2 separate regions of the Homo sapiens genome follow, and region 1 is linked to region 2. The links are contacts of gene promoters, found by promoter capture Hi-C in human tissues and cell types (Jung and others, 2019). All regions are on one chromosome and are shown on one strand. Each heading gives the region's core, a stretch centred on a gene start or on the middle of the fragment in contact. The rest is flanking DNA. Distances are from core to core; before and after follow the strand shown.

Evidence for each region. Contacts are between HindIII fragments. The study calls those that stand out against the background at their distance.
Region 1: a fragment that was not itself captured here is called in contact with the fragment with the promoter of APMAP in region 2 in 2 of the 25 tissues and cell types used here (aorta and hippocampus).

Annotation. Positions count from the first base shown.
Region 1 is chr20:25,532,769-25,536,966 of GRCh38, reverse strand. The region is part of intron 1 of NINL (ninein like); the gene reads left to right. Among named protein-coding and RNA genes, the nearest start is that of NINL, 51 kb to the left of the region's middle. RefSeq lists an enhancer at 3,404-4,198. The HindIII fragment of the contact is 6,083 bases long and covers 1-4,198 here.
Region 2 is chr20:24,990,156-24,994,328 of GRCh38, reverse strand. APMAP (adipocyte plasma membrane associated protein) reads left to right here and starts at 1,578. Exons shown (of 9, transcript NM_020531.3): 1 at 1,578-1,735. The coding sequence starts at 1,641. RefSeq lists enhancers at 1,024-1,524, 1,437-1,676, 1,807-1,886, 1,907-1,966, 1,525-2,025. The HindIII fragment of the contact is 14,400 bases long and covers 1-3,397 here.

The DNA of each region.
Region 1 (4,198 bases), core at 1,518-4,017, 540 kb before region 2:
CATATCCTAATTGTACTGTTTTATAGCCTACAGAGTATGAGCAAGGTAATTAAACCTCATTCTGCTGTTATTTCTTATACTCTCTAGGCTCCCCAGTGGCCACTGTGCATTTTTGCTGTTGTCACTGCATAACATTGTCCACTGCAGAACCAATAGGTTGGTCATGATTACACTTCTACTCTTTTGCCAGGTTTGGCTTTATGGGCTGATGTTGTCTGGGCTTTTACTGGCTTACCTTTTTTTTTTTTTGGAGACAGTCTTACTCTATCGCCCAGGCTGGAGTGCAGTGGCATGATCTCAGCTTACTGAAAACTCTGCCCCCCAGGCTCAAGCAATTCTCTTGCCTCAGCCTCCTGAGTAGCTGGGATTTTAGGCGCCTGCCACCATGCCCAGCTAATGTTTGTATTTTTTGTATTTTTGTAGAGACAGGATTTCACCATGTTGGCCAGGCTGGTCTTGAACTCCTGACCTCAAGTGATCCACCTGCCTGAGCCTCCCAAAGTACTGGGATTATAGGCGTGAGCCACTGCTCCCAGCCCTGGCTTACTTTTTAATGAATTTATTCTTATTTTTTCCAAATGCTCCATCAGCCTTGTCAAAAGCCTATCCCTATTTTTCTCAAAGGCTCAGTGGGCAGTACACAGCAGTCTGTTGGGGTTGGTCACCTCCCATCCCTGGCCTGGCTGAGCTCCTACACCAAAGCCTCTCGTCTTGGATGGAGCCCAGATCGTGAGCCTGTGTCTTTGACTTTCTTGGTTCACCCCTTATTTTGCCGAAGTGTGTATTCAGCGTGGGTTATATAGTCTCTTGGGTAGGTGGAAAGTCATTTACCCTGAGCACATGGAAGGCCCTGGGTTGGCTCTGAACTTTCAGCCTTGCTGCTGTGGGCATGGTGCCATTCTGATCCCTGTTGCTGTGATGTGGGGCTGCTCTTTCTCTCTGGACATCTGTAGGGCTCACTCGTTAGTTTGCTCTGAAGTTCACAAGGGTGTGCTTGGCGCGGGTGTTTTTCATTTGTTGTCCCAAGCGGAATGACTTTTCCATCTGTGTGCTTGGAAAAGTCTTGTATTATTCTAATCATTTCCCCTTTCCCTTCCCTTGGCTCCCTTTTCTGGGCTTTTCAAGGATGTCGAGAGATTTGGGATTGATTATTTTGCGGGAGAGGGAGGCAAGGAGAAAATCCAGATAAAAGTGCTGTAGGAGAACAGAGTTGGGCAGTTTCAGAAAGCAGGTCACCATATTTTGAACACTTTTCTTTCTTTATTTTTAAAAAATATGTTTTACTTAAATTTAATGGTGGTAAAAAACACAACATGAAATTTACCCTCTTAACCATTGTTAAGTGTACAGTTCTGTAATGTTAACTAGATTCGCTTAGTTTTGTAACAGATCTCTAGAACTTCTCCCCCACCCCAGTTTATGAAGGTATAATTGACAAAAATGCATATATTTATGGTGTACAAAATTATGTTTTGATTCATGTATACATTATAAAATTGTTAAATCTAGCTAATTAACATATCTGTCCCCTCACATACTTAATACTTTTTGTGGTGACATTTAAGATCTACTCTCATAGCAATTTTTGAGTATACAATATGTTATTATTAACTGTAGTCACCACGTTGTACAGTAGATCGCCAGAACTTATTCATGTCTTACCCAAAACTTTGCACCCCTACCCAACAACTCCACAACCCCCGACACCAGCCCCTGGCCACTTCTGTTCACTCGTAGCTTCTCTGCGGCCAGCTGCTCTAGAATCCACATCTGAGTAAGGTCTGTGGCGTTTGTCTCTCTATGCCGGCCTTATTTCACTTAGCGTTAATGTCCTCTAGGCGTATCCATGTTGTTGCAAATGAAAAGATTTTCCTCCTTTTTGAGGTGTAATAATATTTCATTGTACACAGAAGTACAGTGAGTCTTTTGTGTCAGTGGGTTCTACATCTGTGGATTTAACTAACCATGAATCAAAAATGTAGTTAGGCATGTGATGGTTGCCTCTATACTGAACATGTAGAGGCTTTTTGTTTTCTTGTCATTATTCCCTAAACAATATGGTATAACAACTACTTACACAGCATTTACCTTGTCTTAGGTATTATACGTAATCTAGAGGTGATTTAAAGTATACAGGAGGATATGCATAGGTTATAGGCAAATACTACATCATTTTATAGAGGGACTTGAGCATCTGTGATTTTGGTATCCATGAGAGGTCCTGGAACCACCCCCTATGGATATTGAGGGATGACAGTACATATAGTCATATACCACATAACAATATTTCAGTCAGCAATGGACTGCATATACAGTGGTGGTCTCATAAGATTACAATACTCTAGTTCTGTACCTTTTCTATGTTTAGATATGTTTGGATTACCATTGTGTTACAATTGCCTCCAGTGTTCAGTACACGAACCTGCTTGTGGCCTAGGTTTGTGGTAGGCCATGCTATCTTGGTTTGTGTAAGTACACTCTGTGATGTTTGCATAACAACAAAATCACCTAACAACACATTTTCAGAACTTATCACCATTGTTAAGTGATACATGACTGTATCTCTTTGAGATGCTGTTTTCAGTTCTTTTGGTTATTGTCACAAGTGAGCGGCAACTGTCTGGGGCTGGCAGTGCAGGGGTAAGAAGAATTTACCAAGAAAGGCAGAGAGAAAGGAGAAAAATACATTGCAAGGGAGTAACAGGCACAGCAGGAAGAGAGGAGCTGACTGCAAAGAGACAAAGCTTTGTTGGGGATTTTATAGAATAGTGTTTATGCTGCATGCTGAAGAGGGCTTTGTGCAGTACTGATAAGGCCAAGGTTGCAGTGAGCTAACGTGCAGGTGTCTGGTGAGAAGTTGGGCACAGGAGGACTGTGTATCCTGGGCCAGGAAGAAGGACAGACTTAGAGTTTACCTACTTTTCTTTTGGCTTCCCCTGCTCCCACCATCCTGGCCCCGCAGTGCCTTCAAGTTTTCAAGTTTGATGTAGTCCCCTTTGTGTATCTTTGCTTTTGTTGCCTGTGCTTTTAGTGACATATCTAAGAAATCACTGCCAAATCCAACATCATGAAGCTTTCTCTCTGTTTATAAAACTATTACACTATTTTAGTTAAAACTATAAAAAGCTTTATAGTTTTAGGTCTTACATTTAAGGTCTTTGATCCATTTTTGGTAAATTTTACAAAAGTTAATTTTTGTATATTGTAGAAAGCAAGGGTTAAACTGAGTTCTTTTGCTTGTGGATATCTGCAGTTTTCCCTGCAGCATTTATTGGAGAGACAGTCTTTTTCCCGTTTTGTGGTCTTGACACCCTTGTTGAAGATCATTTGTATGCATGGGGGTTGATTTCTGGGGTCTGTATTCTGTTCCATGGGTCTATGTCTGCCTGTGCTGAGACCACACTGATTTGACTACTGTATGGAATTGATTTTTAATTTCCCTTTTTTTCTCTCTCATTTTTTATCTTTATTGTTTAGATACACTTTATAGGAGCTTTCCTTGTCTTCCGATTCTGCTGTTGACGTTTGTTTTGCCACTGTAACATGTCAGTGTCCAGGAAACTTCCCTTGGTCTCGGATCGTTCTTTTTGCCCAGCAGTCTGTTTTGTTTCCTGGCTGAAATGGCTTTCCTCTTTCCTTCTCTGGGTAGTGCAATTTTTCTGTGTGCGCGTGTGTGTGTTTTGGGCTCAGCCCCTTCATTATTCTCCTCTCCCACATCCGCCTGGCATCATCGGCTCCAGACTCCAGGGATTGGAGTGTGTGTGAACATTGGAATTCTAAGCCCCATCTTCAGGCTGCTCCACTGCTTCTGAGACCCTCCACAGTTCTGCGGGGTTCATGGTTTGTCTGCTGTCGTGTTGCCTGGGCTGTGTTCTGGGGCTCTTGGATCCCAGGGCAGCCACTTGAAGCGGCCAGCCTCTCTGCAGCGGGGTTCCTATGTGGCTGAGCCGGGCCGCTTTCCAGGTGAATGCAGTCTTCTGTGGAGCCTTGGAGTTTTTCTAAGCCTTCCTGGCCAGGGTTTCCAACTGCCTCCATTTGCTAAGGTTGGTCATGGGGTATTTGAGAGGTTACGGAAAGACGCTTTGCCCCTCTTCCTGGGGTGAGGGGAGGACAGGTTCTATCGGGTGTATGGGAGGAGACAGTACCTCCTCGTTTCCTTTATTTTGAAAATGTGGCTGGATATTGTCTTGGATAGGGG
Region 2 (4,173 bases), core at 329-2,828:
TGAGTTCAATGTTATGGCTGGGACATGTTTAAAGTGCCTTGAAGACAAAGAGGAAGATGTTCTGCTTGGGAAACTGGGAGAAGAATTTTCAGCAAGGATACTTGAAGTGGGTCCTGAATGATAAAAATAATTGGCCAAGTGGAGGTGAAGGAGAGTGTATCACAGGAAGAAGGAACCTCAAGGACAAAGGCAGCCAGGCATGAGATTAGACATGTTAAGCCATCCTGAATGTCTGAAATGGGGGGTGGGGAGCAAGAGGGATAGTCCAGACAGGCAGGAAGGCGTGAGATCATACAGTACTTTGTTAACACTATCCCTGATTTAATAGCTGTATTGGCTATTCTCAATGACACAGAATGAAGTAAAATGTTGTCGAGGCCTGAATTATTACCTGGGATCTCTGGAGAACTGGATTTGCACAGCTCTCCACTTCCCTCAAGCTGGTTCTTCCGCTCTTTGAATGAATAAATAAAAAGCATTCACATGGAATTCTAGTGCCATCTAGCATTTAAAAAGGTAAAAGCCTCCAAGAGGAAATTATTTCTTAACACTGCATTTTGAACATGGCTTTTCCAGAGATAATTCCTCGTGCCACTGGTAACGGGCTTTGATTTCTTCTGCCTGTCACTTCCTCCAGATTCGATTCCTCTTTGAATCTCAAATGCTCTCACAAGATTCAGCTCTTCCCTTTTGAAGCAATTATTACGTTTGATAATTTTACGTCTATTTTATGATGATGATCTGATTAAAGTCATCTTTCCCACTAGTTTAATTTCTATAAGGAGGGGCCTTGTCTGTGATTTGCCCACCATCGTCTCCCAGCACCTGGGAACATTTCTGGTTTCCTGCAATACTGTTGAAAGAACAATGCCTCTCTATGCTTTCTTAAACTTTGTTAGTGATAATTTCTACTTCTACCTGGACTTTACTTAAGGGTAATCCTTAATAAACTTTATCAAAACTTAATAAACTTTATCAAAACTTAATAAACTTTATCAAATGTCTGTTGTAATCGTCACAAAAAGATTTAATACTCAACATCTGGCCTTAACCAGAGGGAAACATTTTCTAGCCCAAGTTTTCCCCTTAACCGGCTGAGTCGGGGAAGGATGTAATTTTCAGGCAGAGGTGACTTCGTTCCAAGGGTGTGAATGCATTATTTTTGACGCTGCCTGTAAGAGCAGGGTCGCTGACACTGAATAAACAGCGCTATCCTCTCCAACGATAAAAGTGGCCAACATCTCGTGCTAGCAATTCCCAAGTGCGTCATGAGCATCCCCGTCCTCAGAAACGTGAGACGAAGGCGGCATGCGCAGGCACTGGGCTAGACGAGCCCGAGGTTGAACCACTCGCGTTCTGGGCCCCGGAGTCCGAGACAGGCGGGGACCCCGGCAGCTCCCGGTGCTATCTCTGAGCGGGTTCCGAGCCCCACTTCCGGGCGGTCAGAATTAGCCTCAGAGCGCCGAGCAACGACGCGCCGGGGACCTCCCGCCCATGAGGCCGGAAGGGGCGGGGAGAACGCTGCGGAATGGTCCCTGGGCGCAACGTCATTTCCGCGTACGGGGGAGGGCGGGCCTGGAGTCTGAGCCGGCGCCGCTCAGTGTGAGGTGGTTTCTGCGGGTGAGGCTGGCGCCCGTACCATGAGCGAGGCGGACGGGCTGCGACAGCGCCGGCCCCTGCGGCCGCAGGTCGTCACAGACGATGATGGCCAGGCCCCGGAGGCTAAGGACGGCAGGTAGGGCGGACTCCCAGACTGGGCGCTGGAGCCGGGCCGCTAGGAGTGGAGGGCGACCCTCTTGGACAGCGGCGACGGCAGTAACAGTAACCTGGGGATGCGGTGCCGAGCGCGTTGTCAGAGTCCTCTCGTTTCATCCCCAAGAAAAACTCATTTTTCCGAGGAAGCAGGCTCCGACAAGGCGGATGTACCTGCCAGGTCTTTCAGGTTCGGGTGCACCCTGCGCCCAGTCGCCGCGTTGTCCTCGGCTCTCCGGACCCGAGACCGCCTCGCGCCGCTCCTTTGCCTTCCCTCCCTCACTCCTGCCCCACCCTGCATAGCGGTTGCTTCCTCGCCTTTCCCTCGCTCCCCTCGCGCTGTCCTTCCTTTGGCTTAAATGATCCCCCTGAGCACAGCTACTTGGCCGGGGCCCTGCGTGTTCCTGGTTCCCCGCTCGCAATTTCCCGAAGGGAGGAGGTCCCACGAGATGCTGGGGTCCTGCCTCGTTATCCGGCGAAGAGATGGCTTCTACACTTGCTCTTCTGCACCTGCCCCCCTCACGCTGCGTGACCAGTCCTCACCGCGGTTCTTGGAAAGAGTGGAGAACAGTAGTGACATTGTAGGCAATTTTTGTGAGAATTCAGCCTGGCAGTTTTTCCTGATAGGGATGGAGAAACATAGGAAACTGTAGTTGTTGACACCTAAGAAATATCAGGTTTTGCCCTTTGCCTCCTCTCCCATCTTTCAGAATATAAGAATGCTGTGTTTTGTTAGCTAAAAACTGAATCATGATTCGTAAGCATAGATTTCAATATAAGATACTTAAAATTCACTTTTCAATTCTGTGTCCTGAATTTCATAACTTTTAAGTTTCAGGGAGAATCAAGAGGCCCCATAGACCAAGCTTGAAGTTGTGGGACTGATTGACTTATATTTGATAGAAATACTGGAAATATTTGTTCATCAGTAGTGTGCCAAGAGGTGGTGGGGTACATATGAATGAGAGGCAGTTTTTGCCCCTGTAGACTGAGTTTATTGACTGATGATAAGAGGAACACATTTGAAGGAGAGCGATGGCAGGAAGGAGCATTTAGGCTCTAGAGAGGCAATTTAGAGAGAAGACTTTGCGGTGATAGTTGACTCCTTGGGCCAGTGAAAAGATCGGGAAGATGCTCCCATATATCCTGACCAACCATCCTGCGTTGCCCTGGACTGGGGTTTCCAAGGATGTAGAACTTTCAGTGCTAAACCTGGGCAAACTGGGACAATCTGATCACCCTACTTACTGTGAATATTGTGAATTAATCATCTGTTGATGATTGAGGAGCCATTTAGAATGGACATGCAAGAATTGGCAACACTTTCCTACAGAAATCTTGAAAACAAGGCATTTTTACCTGAGAAATGGAAGAGCAGTGGCCTGAGTTTGTCATTAGGTGCAGTGTGTTGAAAACCAGGGCCTACAGCCCCTGAGGGCACCGGTTAGGTAGTCCCAACTCTCAAGTTGGCTGGCTCACACTTCTGGCCCCAGGGCAAGCAGGCAGACTTAATTGTTTTTTTCAGGTTCTCTGTGGGGATTTCTTCCTTAATGAGTAAGTAAATCTGATTCTAAAGTCATCTTTTACTGCCTGATCTTTTCCAGTGTGCCTTTTACATTTATGTTTACTTATTTCCTTGACTTCCCTGTCCATGAACATTGTTCCTGTTTCCCTGTGTTTGTCCTTCTTGTTTGTTTATCCCTTTTCTGTATATCTGTAATGATCTCTTTCAAAGTGAGGTCTTGTCACCACCCTTCCTTTCCGCAATTATTATTGTAACATGGTAGCTGTTTTTCTTATTTTTCTTCTGCATTTCTCCTATATTTTTCATTTATTTTGTGGTCATTTCTAGTAGTTCATGTAATAGTATTCTTGATTACCTTAAAAGTCGAGGGTTCAACATAAGCCAGGAAAGCCTGTGTATAGTGGGCGAAGTAAAGGAATCTAAATTCAGAAGTAAAAACACGAAACTATTAGAATAAACTTTAGCACTTTAGATGTGCTAAATAGAATAAAGGAAGCCTTGAAAGACATATTACTAAACTGACAGAACTAAGACATAGATTTTAGCAGTGGTAGGGACCCCTAGTAATACGTTGGGTGGTCTCCCAACTCTTGGCACAAAAGGTGGGTGTTTGCTTTGTTTTGCTGATGAGATCATTGAGGTCTATGTGTGTGAGGTGGTTTATATGAAGTTACAGAGAATAGAGTCAAAAGAGAAATGAAAATGAATGAAGAAGGATAGAACTGGCAGCTGGACAATGACTGAGAAGTGTATTTTTAAAATTATGCTTTGGAAATAAGACTTTATGCCAAAGCTCTTGAATTACTGTATTTGAAATATAATGGAGAATTTGGTTGGTAAATTCTTTTATTCAGTGTGGAACATAGATGAGCTAAGTACTTTAACATACCGGTGCA